Regions from separate parts of the Homo sapiens genome. Here region 1 is linked to region 2. Evidence: promoter capture Hi-C in 16 types of primary human blood cells and fetal thymus (Javierre and others, 2016). All regions are on one chromosome and are shown on one strand. Each heading gives the region's core, a stretch centred on a gene start or on the middle of the fragment in contact. The rest is flanking DNA. Distances are from core to core; before and after follow the strand shown.

Evidence for each region. The method cuts DNA at HindIII sites, captures the fragments that hold promoters and counts their contacts. A CHiCAGO score of 5 or more calls a contact.
Region 1: a fragment that was not itself captured here is called in contact with the fragment with the promoter of CDH10 in region 2 in 1 of 17 cell types (endothelial precursors); the score reaches 7.5 in endothelial precursors.

What each region holds. Positions count from the first base shown.
Region 1 is chr5:28,764,376-28,770,041 of GRCh38, forward strand. No RefSeq gene overlaps it. Among named protein-coding and RNA genes, the nearest start is that of LINC02109, 380 kb to the right of the region's middle. The HindIII fragment of the contact is 1,144 bases long and covers 2,747-3,890 here.
Region 2 is chr5:24,643,298-24,648,285 of GRCh38, forward strand. It overlaps CDH10 (cadherin 10), which reads right to left and starts at 1,681. Exons shown (of 12, transcript NM_006727.5): 1 at 1,297-1,681. LOC124901174 (a long non-coding RNA gene) reads left to right here and starts at 1,412. Exons shown (of 2, transcript XR_007059125.1): 1 at 1,412-1,775; 2 at 2,014-2,217. RefSeq lists an enhancer at 1,378-1,973. The HindIII fragment of the contact is 4,637 bases long and covers 312-4,948 here.

The DNA.
Region 1 (5,666 bases), core at 2,069-4,568, 4.1 Mb after region 2:
CTCTCCAACCTGTAATGTCAACTGCTCTTTCCACTGACTCCTACTTCCAACCCAAGTCTAAAGTCAAACTGACGTTTTTCCCAGCCAGGAATGACAGAAACCAACAGTGGCAGCAATAACAACAACTAAAAAAACAACAGACACTCTCGTGGTTAAGGAAGTTGCTCCGATTTTCATGTGTTGAAATACATATAAATGCATGTAAGAATTATAAATACATATAAGACTTAAGGACAGTCTACATTCCCAGAATCTTTTATCAAACATCTTCTAGAAAAAGCAAACAAGCAAAAAAAAAAATTAACCAAGTCTTACTTACAGATATAGAGGTAAAAATCCTAAGAAACACAAAAGAGAGAGAGAGAGGGGGGAGAGAGAGAGAGAAAAGAAAGAAGAAAGAAAAGAAAGAGAGAGGAGGAAGGAAGGGAGGGAAGGAGGGAACTATAATACCAAAAGCTTAATATAATATTCTCAACTAGAGTGTATAGCAAAAATGAAAGCATGCTTTATCATTTGTCAATGTAATTCATCATTTTATTAAGGAAGGAAAATATGTGAGAAGTTAGAACTTTATCCTAAAAGACAGTACAACCTGGAGAAGAAAAGCTCAAAGTATAGAATCAGATAATAGAAGTTTAGAACTTGACTTTACCACATCCTTGCTGTGTCATCTAGTCCACATTTTCTAACTTCTCTGTACCTATTTCCTCATCTGTGAAATTGGAATAGCAATATTGCCTCAGAGAATTGTTTAGAGGACACAATATTCTTTAAAATTTAAAGCATTTTATTGAGTATCTGAGCGATGATAAATCCTCAATACACATTAAATAGTATTAATGTTATATTATTTAATGTGTGCATGTATGTATTTTCTTTCTACTTCAGTGTCAACCTTCTCTGGGGTCCTTCCTTACTCACTTCCCTACTACTATCGTTGACAACCTCATTCACTCCCAAAAGGTTGCTTTTCAGATTTGACTGTCAAATCTTTGTTACAGCCCAGATCTCTATAAAGTTTCAGTCTCATCTGTGTTCCCAACTACTTATTAGCTATAACAACTAGGTTGTCTTTCCAAAGATCAATATATCAAATCTAAGATAACTACCACTGTCTTCCCTTCCTTCATTTTAACATCATTTCAGCTTGTTACTTACGCATTCTCTACCTTGGTTAAAGCAATCATGGTCCTGTCTCTCAAATTAAAAATCTCAGAAATACTTTTTTTCTCCCTTACCAAAATAATACTGCTATTGTTCATTAAAACAGGCAAAAGGGATAAACAATAACCCAGGACAGTCTTTGGCACTTTCCTGGGAACCAAGAGCAAGCATTGGTTCCTTATTAGTGACTGAAGGAGTATAACAAGAAGTCGCCAATGAAATGTGCATTTGTTCATCTGTCACCTTCTTTTCATTTCATTTTCCATCCTATTGTTTGAATCAGACTCTATAAACTGTTTCCCAGGGCACACAATTTGCCTCTGATTTTCCAGCTTCCCAATTAATCTTTCATTGCTTAAAATATGCAATGGGATTTATTTAAAATAGTTTATGCTTTAAAACTTTTTAGTATGTTTCCAAGGCCTTCATAATCATCATCTACCATATTTTTCTCTCTTCTGTCTCTTGATTTTGATGCACTCATTTTATTTTCTGATTACTCCCAAACTTACACATTTTCCAAACAACCCAGGACACTTCTCACACCCTTGGCTCTACATACACTGGTCTCCATTTCCTGAATAGCTTTCTCCCTTTTCCCATATGTATAAATACTGATTTTACCTTCCTTGAGGCCCAGATAAAGCATTATCCCCTCTATAAAAATATCTCTTTCCTCCCCAAACTAAATATAGTTTTTGCACTAAAATTAATTTCTGCCTCTATATTCAAAAAGCATGTCTTATTAAAATTATCAATGTTTTTATTATTTTATTTTTTCCTAGTAGAGAGATAGCGCTTATCAATTGTGTATTATTTTAAAAAAAATCTGTACGTCGACATAATTAATATGACTTGCCTTCACTGATCCTTACGTACATAACTAATATTTTGAAATTTGTGCATCATTCAGGAAAACATACTGTTTAATGTTATTATTTACTTTTGAAAACAATATGCAGTCTCTAGTAAAAAATTTTATTTACTGTTTCTTAACTTTAATGTGAAATAAGATCAAGACTAAAAAACAAAATATTAACATACCTATATACCTACCCATTTAATAACTTAAATATAATTCAATATATTATAACTAATTTTTAAGAGATTAAAAAACATTTTATTTTATCAGACACTCAAGTATTAAATTTTCATATTCATTCTACTGTTTCTAGTAAGCTCTAGCATTTTAGGGGTTGGGCTGCCATCTGGTGGAAATTTTAAGTCTTAACTAAAAAATCTATATTTTGGTGTGGCTTGCTCATTTATGTGTTATAAGCACGTTAATAAACATTCTAGTTGCACAGGAGAAAATGTACTAAATTAAATTAATGAGCTGAAATGTAATAGAAAATAAAAGCAAATACATATTTAAATTAGACAAGTATGCGTTTCTGCTTGCCTTAACCATCCATTTGTACCACAATAAATTTAATACTGTGAATATAAAGAAGGCCATAAAAACTCAACAAATAGACAAACAGACAATTGGTTACTGTGTGAACACAATCAGGATTTTTTAACCCTAAGTTATAAACCAAGATTTGCTTTTACTGTCATACAATTACAAAACCTCTACATAAGCTTCAAAAGAAACCATAAGTAGTCATGAAAAAATACACTGGGAAGAAATTACATTCTATTTCTTTTCTGATTACCCAATTGCACATTCATTTCTCAGTTATTTCTTCTTGAAATACCTTGTTTGGTGCAGCAATACCTTGCTGTTTACCATACTTAATGAAATACAAACTAGAGTAGATAAACTCAGAAACAAATGTAAAATAGAGTACTCAGATATGAAATAGAATATTGTCAAATATTGTTTTAGAAAGACTCACATACAAACATTTCAAAACTGATTATACCGAAAATTTTTAAATGAAATTATTGAAGATAACTGTTGGTTGGTAGAGTTGATATGTTAATATTCTAGAGTGCAGATCACATCCTTAGTCTTATTATTGACACAAACTCACAGGAGGTGCATTTTTATCTAATGAGGTTGTTATTCTTGTTGGATATTTTTTATTTCCAAAAAATTAAAATTTAATCTCACCATAATGGGATGTTTGCCTAGACATGCTAGGCTTGACAGAGATGATTTATGATTCTGAAAATAAAACTAAATTGCACAGAGCCCTTGAGGAACCTAAAAGCAGAATGTGTTAGAGAAGTGAGGGATACATTGTGAAGCAGGAAGGCTCAAGAGCAGTTCCAGTTCCATTCTTAATTAACAGTATGGTTTAAATAAAAATAATAATCATAATCATAAGCCACATTGTAAAGCAGTTTTCATATCACATATTATTGAATCCTCACAACAATGAGATGATAAGCGTTCCTTTACTATTAGTTTTGTAGAAATCACAAAACAGGCTCAGAGATACAAAATAACTTTGCCAAGTGCAAACAACTAGTATATGCCACAGATGGAACATTCAGGCAGACTACTGGGATTCGGCTTGCTCATTGAAAAATAATATTCTGTGAATCCTATTTAGGATTTTAGTTTTCTATGCAGGTGAATCATAATAGGTTTACTTTATTACAGAACCAATTAGTATTTTAAAATTAATCTGTATTTGTTTTGTTAGGATTTAACATACATAAAGAATATACATAAAAATTTATGTGCCTGGAAAAAATAAGGTACAACAAAGAGCCATGGCTATAACTATAACCAGTATTCAAGAAGCCTCCAGCAATGCATCTATAAATATGAAAGCTTTCTGCAACTGACTTGGGTGTAAACTTTACACTACAATTTATAATAATTGTCTCCTGTTTTTTTTAAGACAGAGTTTCGCTCTGTTGCCCAGGCTGGAGGGCAATGGTGTGATTTCGGCTCACTGCACCCTCTGCCTCCCAGGTTCAAGCAATTCTCCTCCCTCAGCCTCCTGAGTAGCTGGAATTACAGGCACCTGACACTATGCCCGGCTAATTTTTTGTATTTTTTGCAGAGACAGGGTTTCACTATGCTGGTCATGAACTCCTGACCTCGTGATTGGCCCGCCTTGGCCTCCAAATATTGCTTTTTTTAAAAAAGGTATACACCTTTGTATTCATCCTAAAAGTTAATTTTGTTTTGTCTGTTATGCTTATTAATGGTAATATATGTTTTTTATTTGATATCTTGTTTCAGTCAAGGTTTGTGAAAATTATCTTAGATAATTTTATATATTAGAGATACCGTTTATTTTTATTGCTCTATGGTAATTCATTGTATCAATATGAAATAATTATTTATTTTGTAATTGATAGACATAGGATTTTCTTCTAGTTCAAATCTATTACGATAAAATCCAGTGGGATTTCTGTGTGATAAGTTATGTACATCTTCCAAATTTGTATATATATCCTAATTACCAAAATGATTGTATCAACTTATTCTCTTATCCACACTGCACAGTGAAATTTTTTGTTTCTTTTGCCACTCTGATGGTTGTTTTGTTTTGCTTTGATGCTTACAAGATTGAACACACCTTTTCATAGAATTATAGAATACATAATTCATTTTTGTGCTCATTTAAAAATATTACGCTATGTATTTCTCTTACTCATTTATAGCAATTCTAAACATATTTGGAATGCAGATTGTTTCCAGGCAAAGTAAAGAGTAAAGTATGTTCTGGGGAAAATAAAAACAAATATAGGCCGGGCACAGTGGCTCACGCCTGTAATTCCAGCATTTTGGGAGGCCGAGGCAGGTGGATCTCCTGAGGTCAGGAGTTCGAGACCAGTCTGGTTAACATGGTGAAACCCTGTCTTTACTAAAAATATAAAAAATTAGCCTGGGGTGGTGGTGCACGCCTGTAATCCCAGCTACTCGGGAGGCTAAGGCAGGAGAATCGCTTCAACCCGGGAGGTGGAGGTTGCAGTGAGCTGAGATTGAGCCATTGCACTGCAGCCTGGGCAACATGAGTGAAATTCCATCTCAAAAATAAATAAATGAATGAATGAATGGATGAATAAATAAATAAATAAAAATGCAAGAAGCTAAGGGGCAAGGGAATGGGTAGCAGAAAGATGGCAATTCACTGTAAGATGATTACTATGGCAATAACAAAATATTTAGTAAAACCCTCACCATAAAATATACATGTGTGTATGTGTGTGTGCATGCAAGTATAATGCCAGGTTCATAAGGAACAACAGGTAGCAATGTAGGAAGAGTCTGGGAACAGATTACGTTCTATTTCATTTCTGATTGCCCAATTCCATATTCATATCTGAGTTATATCTTCTTGAAATATCTTGTTTGATATAGTAATACCTTGATGTTTACTGTACTTAACGAAATATCACTACAGTAGACGAACTCAGAGACAAATGTACAAATGAATAATCAGAAATGAAATAGAATATTGTCAAAAAGCTCAGAGACCTAAAAAATTTTCGACCACAATATAATATGAAATATTATTAAGATGTACTTTGATAACAAGGGAGGATCAGAGTCAACTTTTCTATAAGGATCAAATCAAGGGTATTACCCATCT
Region 2 (4,988 bases), core at 431-2,930:
ACATAATGTTTTCATGAAAGTTCTACTAATTAAAAATCCTCACCATACCAGACCTAAAAAATGAGCACACTCTTGCCAAGTGTTATTCACCACAGAGAAGCTCTTGTAGCTACGTTTTAAAGGAAGATAGAGAGGGGGATGGTATGGAGGGAGAAAGTCTACTAACATATGCATTGAAGTATAACAGTTGTCAACATCAGAAGGACAGATTATTTTTAATACAGATCCTTCAAGAAAAAAAAAAAGAGGAGAAAAAATAATGTATCTCCAAAGAGCTGAGAAGTAATGGATGTGCAGTTTTGGATAATAGAAGCTTTCACTGGAATGAAGGAATGAAGGACCACAATTATAGGAAACATCTGTTTTTTCAAAGCAAAAGATGATAGGTCATTTTTAAAACAATATTTGTCTTTGTACCTGTAGACTCCCCTTTTTTCATAATAAGGAGACAGTAGGTTTTTATTTTAGTGGCATAAAAACAATTTCAGACTACTGCTTTTGCCCATAGTTACAGTGCTATCAATAGTTACTTGTTGGGGACATGCATTTATACTTGCAATATGCTGCATTAATTTAACAACACATAAAATATGGATTTTATTGCAGCAGAAACAATAAATGCTGCAACTGCTGACTACATGCATTTACTCTCCCTCTCTTTACCTCTCTCCCCCCAATACTTCTGACTCAGATATAAAATTGAAAATAAGAATTCTGCCTATTCTATTTCTGATGAATGTCAATCTATTGTATTTATGTAGATGCTTAGTGACCATTGACAGTTTCAAGGAATCTGTCTTCTGCCTGTCATTTCTGTTTATATTGAACGTACAATGAACTATGACTACGAATAAGTGCAGAGTGAATCCATTCATATGGAATGCAAAGTAATGTTAGATGATGTTAGAGTTCACAGTAACAATGTTATCTCTTGAACTGATTTTTAAAATAAAAATGAACAAGTCTGGGCATGACAAATTCACTTCATAACATATTTTTTAGCATTTGTTCCAAGTGAATGAATTCACAAACTCTAATATCATGACCCACTGTTGAGCATAATATATAATTTATCCAGCTTTACATTGCCTATATAGATATTCGAAGCAGTTGTTTCTAGAATTAAATATATAGAGTTGTATGCTTATTTAAGTATTAAAGATAATTATTTTGAAATAATTGCTAAACACAACTTAAAAACAAACATTTATCTCCTCCCTCTCCCCCCCCACCCCTCAAGTGGAGGAATATATAATACCTTAACGGAGTTAAAAGAAAGAGGTGAAGTCTTCCTACCTTTTTTATCAGCTTCTGGATAATGGAAGTTGGTTCCAGCCAAAATAACCCAGGAGAAATTGTCACTATGTCCCCTTTTTGTTTGTTTTCGGCTGTTATTTTCTATCACTGATTCTACTTCAATCTAACTCAAGCTCTTTCTCAGCATCACTTTTAACTCTGGACAGCAGGGAACCGAAGAAAACGGGGGCGAGCTCTCTCTGATTGGCTTTCATTCAGTGCTTCTGATTAAGGGGAAAGGAAAAAAAAAAAAAAGGAAAGGGGGGAAAAAAGCTCTTCCTCACACGGAGAGAAAGGTTCTGCTGATAGAGCTGCAGCACTCGCCATGGGAAGGTTAGAGACTGTGGAAGTGCTGGCTTCTGCGAGCACACAGCGATTTGCAAGTGAATGCGAGGGGAGGGCGCATCCGAGAGGAGGGCTTTGCTTGAAAGGCGTCCCCTCCCCCGCAGGGCAGAAAGACTCTCTGTTTCAAGGCTAAGGTAATCAGCCCAATCTAATCCGCCTGTGTCCGTAATACAATCTCAGGAACAGGACTGCTTCTTGCAATTTTTTTTAAAAAAAGATAGTTCTTCTGGAATATATATTCCTGCACCGTCCTTACACCAGACTACCGAAATCCAAGTATTATCAGAGCGCCAAGTCAAATTGCAACCAGATTTGATATGTTACCAGAGTGATTTTTCGTTGTGATTTTAAATGTTTATTTTTTGCTTTCAGGGAACTTTCTCGGCTTGATTTTCCAAATCCCTTCTCTTGTTGCTTATTGTCACAGGAGTGCATACCTCGCTCATCATTTTGGAATGTCCGCGAGCCAGTCTTCTCTGCCTAATCTTTGCATTTTAATACTTTATAGATAAAATATTTTATTAAAAATGTAAATATGTAATTAGTGTTATTAAAATATTTAGACTTTGAACTTGACACAGTCTCCTTTTTTTTCTTTTTAACGTTGTTTTTTCTCATAAATACGGGTTTCATACCCAAATGAGTGTGTGGACAGATGTAAATACATTTGGATTGTTCTATCTACTTAAACATCTAACTGTCTCGCTATTTATCAATCTCCACATCAAATTGCAATCAACCAAACCTTACCAAAGGATGTCAGTATAGCTCCACAAAGTAATTAACATCTTTGCATTTTTCCGGCTACAGGTAGATTCCTTTTAAAGTGCCATCCATAAATAAATTATATACACATATACATACATATATGCATATAAATACATATATGTCAATTATAGTTTTAAAGCTAGAGGAGAAATTACGAAGATCATTTTGGGCTGTTATTATTATTATTTCTTTAGCAGATAAAAATGCTCAGAATGTTAAATTGTCACAGGACTAACTGGAGGCGGGGTCAAAGCTGTAATACCACACTCCTACTTCCAGTTTAGTATTGTTTCCGGTTGCCATACTGCCTCCTCTGTACCTGTTTGATCATTCTAACAGTCAACAGGCCCCTTACATAATCAGCACAATGAAAAAGGAAGAAACTCAATCTGAGGGGCAAAAAAGAAGTGAGAGGGAGATTCAAAATTAGATTCCAAAAAGGTTTTAATGTATCACAGTGTTATTATATGATGAATTTTACCAATTAGTTTTATATTTGAAAACACCAAACATTTCCACTGAGCTGAACAGCTAAATGACATTTAGAGCAGAAATGGACTTTTGAAACTCTTAATTTTACAGACGATGGCATTAAGATCAGGAAAATTTTATGGCCCCTCTAAAGTTTGATAATAATAGAGCTAGAATTCTGAATTATCACCGTATCATTTGCCCATAGTTTTTGTTATGTTTTGTATGTTTTCTTCGACAGGGTGCCTTAATTTCAGAGTCAAGTGAAAATAGATATTCAGTTTTTTACCTCTGATACGTATATTTGTGTGTATTTGTGTTTGCCTGGTATATGTGTGTATTCAATATAATACTGTTATTGACATGTTAAATTAGCTATCAAGAGAAATTTATAATATTTAATTAAATGCAGCAGGTTAGGTACACACACACACATTGTTCTCTTATTAAATTAACTATTTCCATATGTTTGTTTAGTGCTAATTTCAAAATGTATGACTACATAATGTGAAGAATTTGGGGGTTACATTTAAATGGGTCGAGAAAATAACCAAAGGCTAAGATCTGAGGTAAATTGCTATTTTATTAATTAGAATACATGTTGAAATGATGTATTCCCAAAATAACATTTTCTGAATTATATAGTTTATGCTTCTCTTACATAGGTTTTTGGTTGGTGTGTTTATTCTGCCCTGTCTAGTCATCAGAAACTCAGCTTCCTTCTGTCTTGATGCTCAATGTTTTTAAGGAATTGAACTCATTTATATGATCCAGGAGAGATCACCACACATCTACCTTCTAGAAAAAGGAATAAAAGGAACAAGAGAAAGTTGCTCCCGTCCTTTGAAAAATGTGACCCTGAACATGTACATGTCACTTTCATGATCTCATTGGGTGGAATTTAGACACTTGGTCACACATTGTTGCTAGGGAGGCTGGGGATGTGGTATTTACTCTCACTATTTGCCCAGCTAAAGTCACTGGTGCTATTAGGGAGGTGACAGAATTGGGTACAAACAGCAGGATTGTCTATTATATTCATGTATTATAGAGTAGTATATTTGGTATAATGTACTTTTTTGGAGAAAAGCAAATTTTTATTCTAGTTTAAAATTAAAATTATGTTATAATGCTAGTGAAAGGTATCTATACAAAATAACGTTAATAATATTTTAACATTTATGAAACAATTGTCAGTTATTGCATTTTTTCTTTTTTTGATCAAGTAATATAATTAATAAATAATAGGCAAAGCATCCATGTATTCCAAAGTTCAGGGGATCTAGTTATAGATGTGAGAGAATGAAGAGGAAAACATTTGAACAATAAATGAATTAAACCCATTCACATTTTTCTTAATGCTCATCTTAGAAAGACTCTATATCTGAGATCAAATGCCATCCTATCGAATATACGCCCTAGTAATTAAAATTAAAATAAAGAATAAACAGAACATTGACTAAAATGTAAAACTTCTGACAATGGGTTTTGTTTTATTAAACAATATTATTTTTCATTTTCTTTATTTCACAATATAAATGAGTTAACTTAGGATTCTGCAAGTTTTTCTATTTCTTTATAATTTTCCCTCCAAATCTTATGTGAAATAGTCTTGTGAATTAGATAGGGTTTTCCTGTTGTTACCAATATCAGGAAACTGGTAGCACGTGGGAAGTGAAATGAATAAATGAAATGTAAAAGGGACAGTAAACTCTCAATGAAATGAATGGGTCAATATCTCGCAGAAATGTCCTTTAATATGAGGAGAGGCCATATATCAACTACAAGCAAATAAAAGTTAATGAAAACTTTTGCAAATATATTTCTATATACAACTTTTAAAACTAAATAGGAAATTGCACAGAAAATACCTTACTACAATCATACAGCACTAAGAAAATTTGAAAGCATTCTATTATTAATATAATAATGGGACTCAATGACGGCTGATCTCTTCATTGCAAATGTGAAAGATCCAATTTGAGTAAAATCAATTAAATGAAACAACCTTCCATTTTGTATGAAACTATTACATGCCTAGAAGTTGTCATGCTGTTGCTAAACAATAAGCTTAACTGCACAAGACTTTACTTGCTGAGCAGCTATGT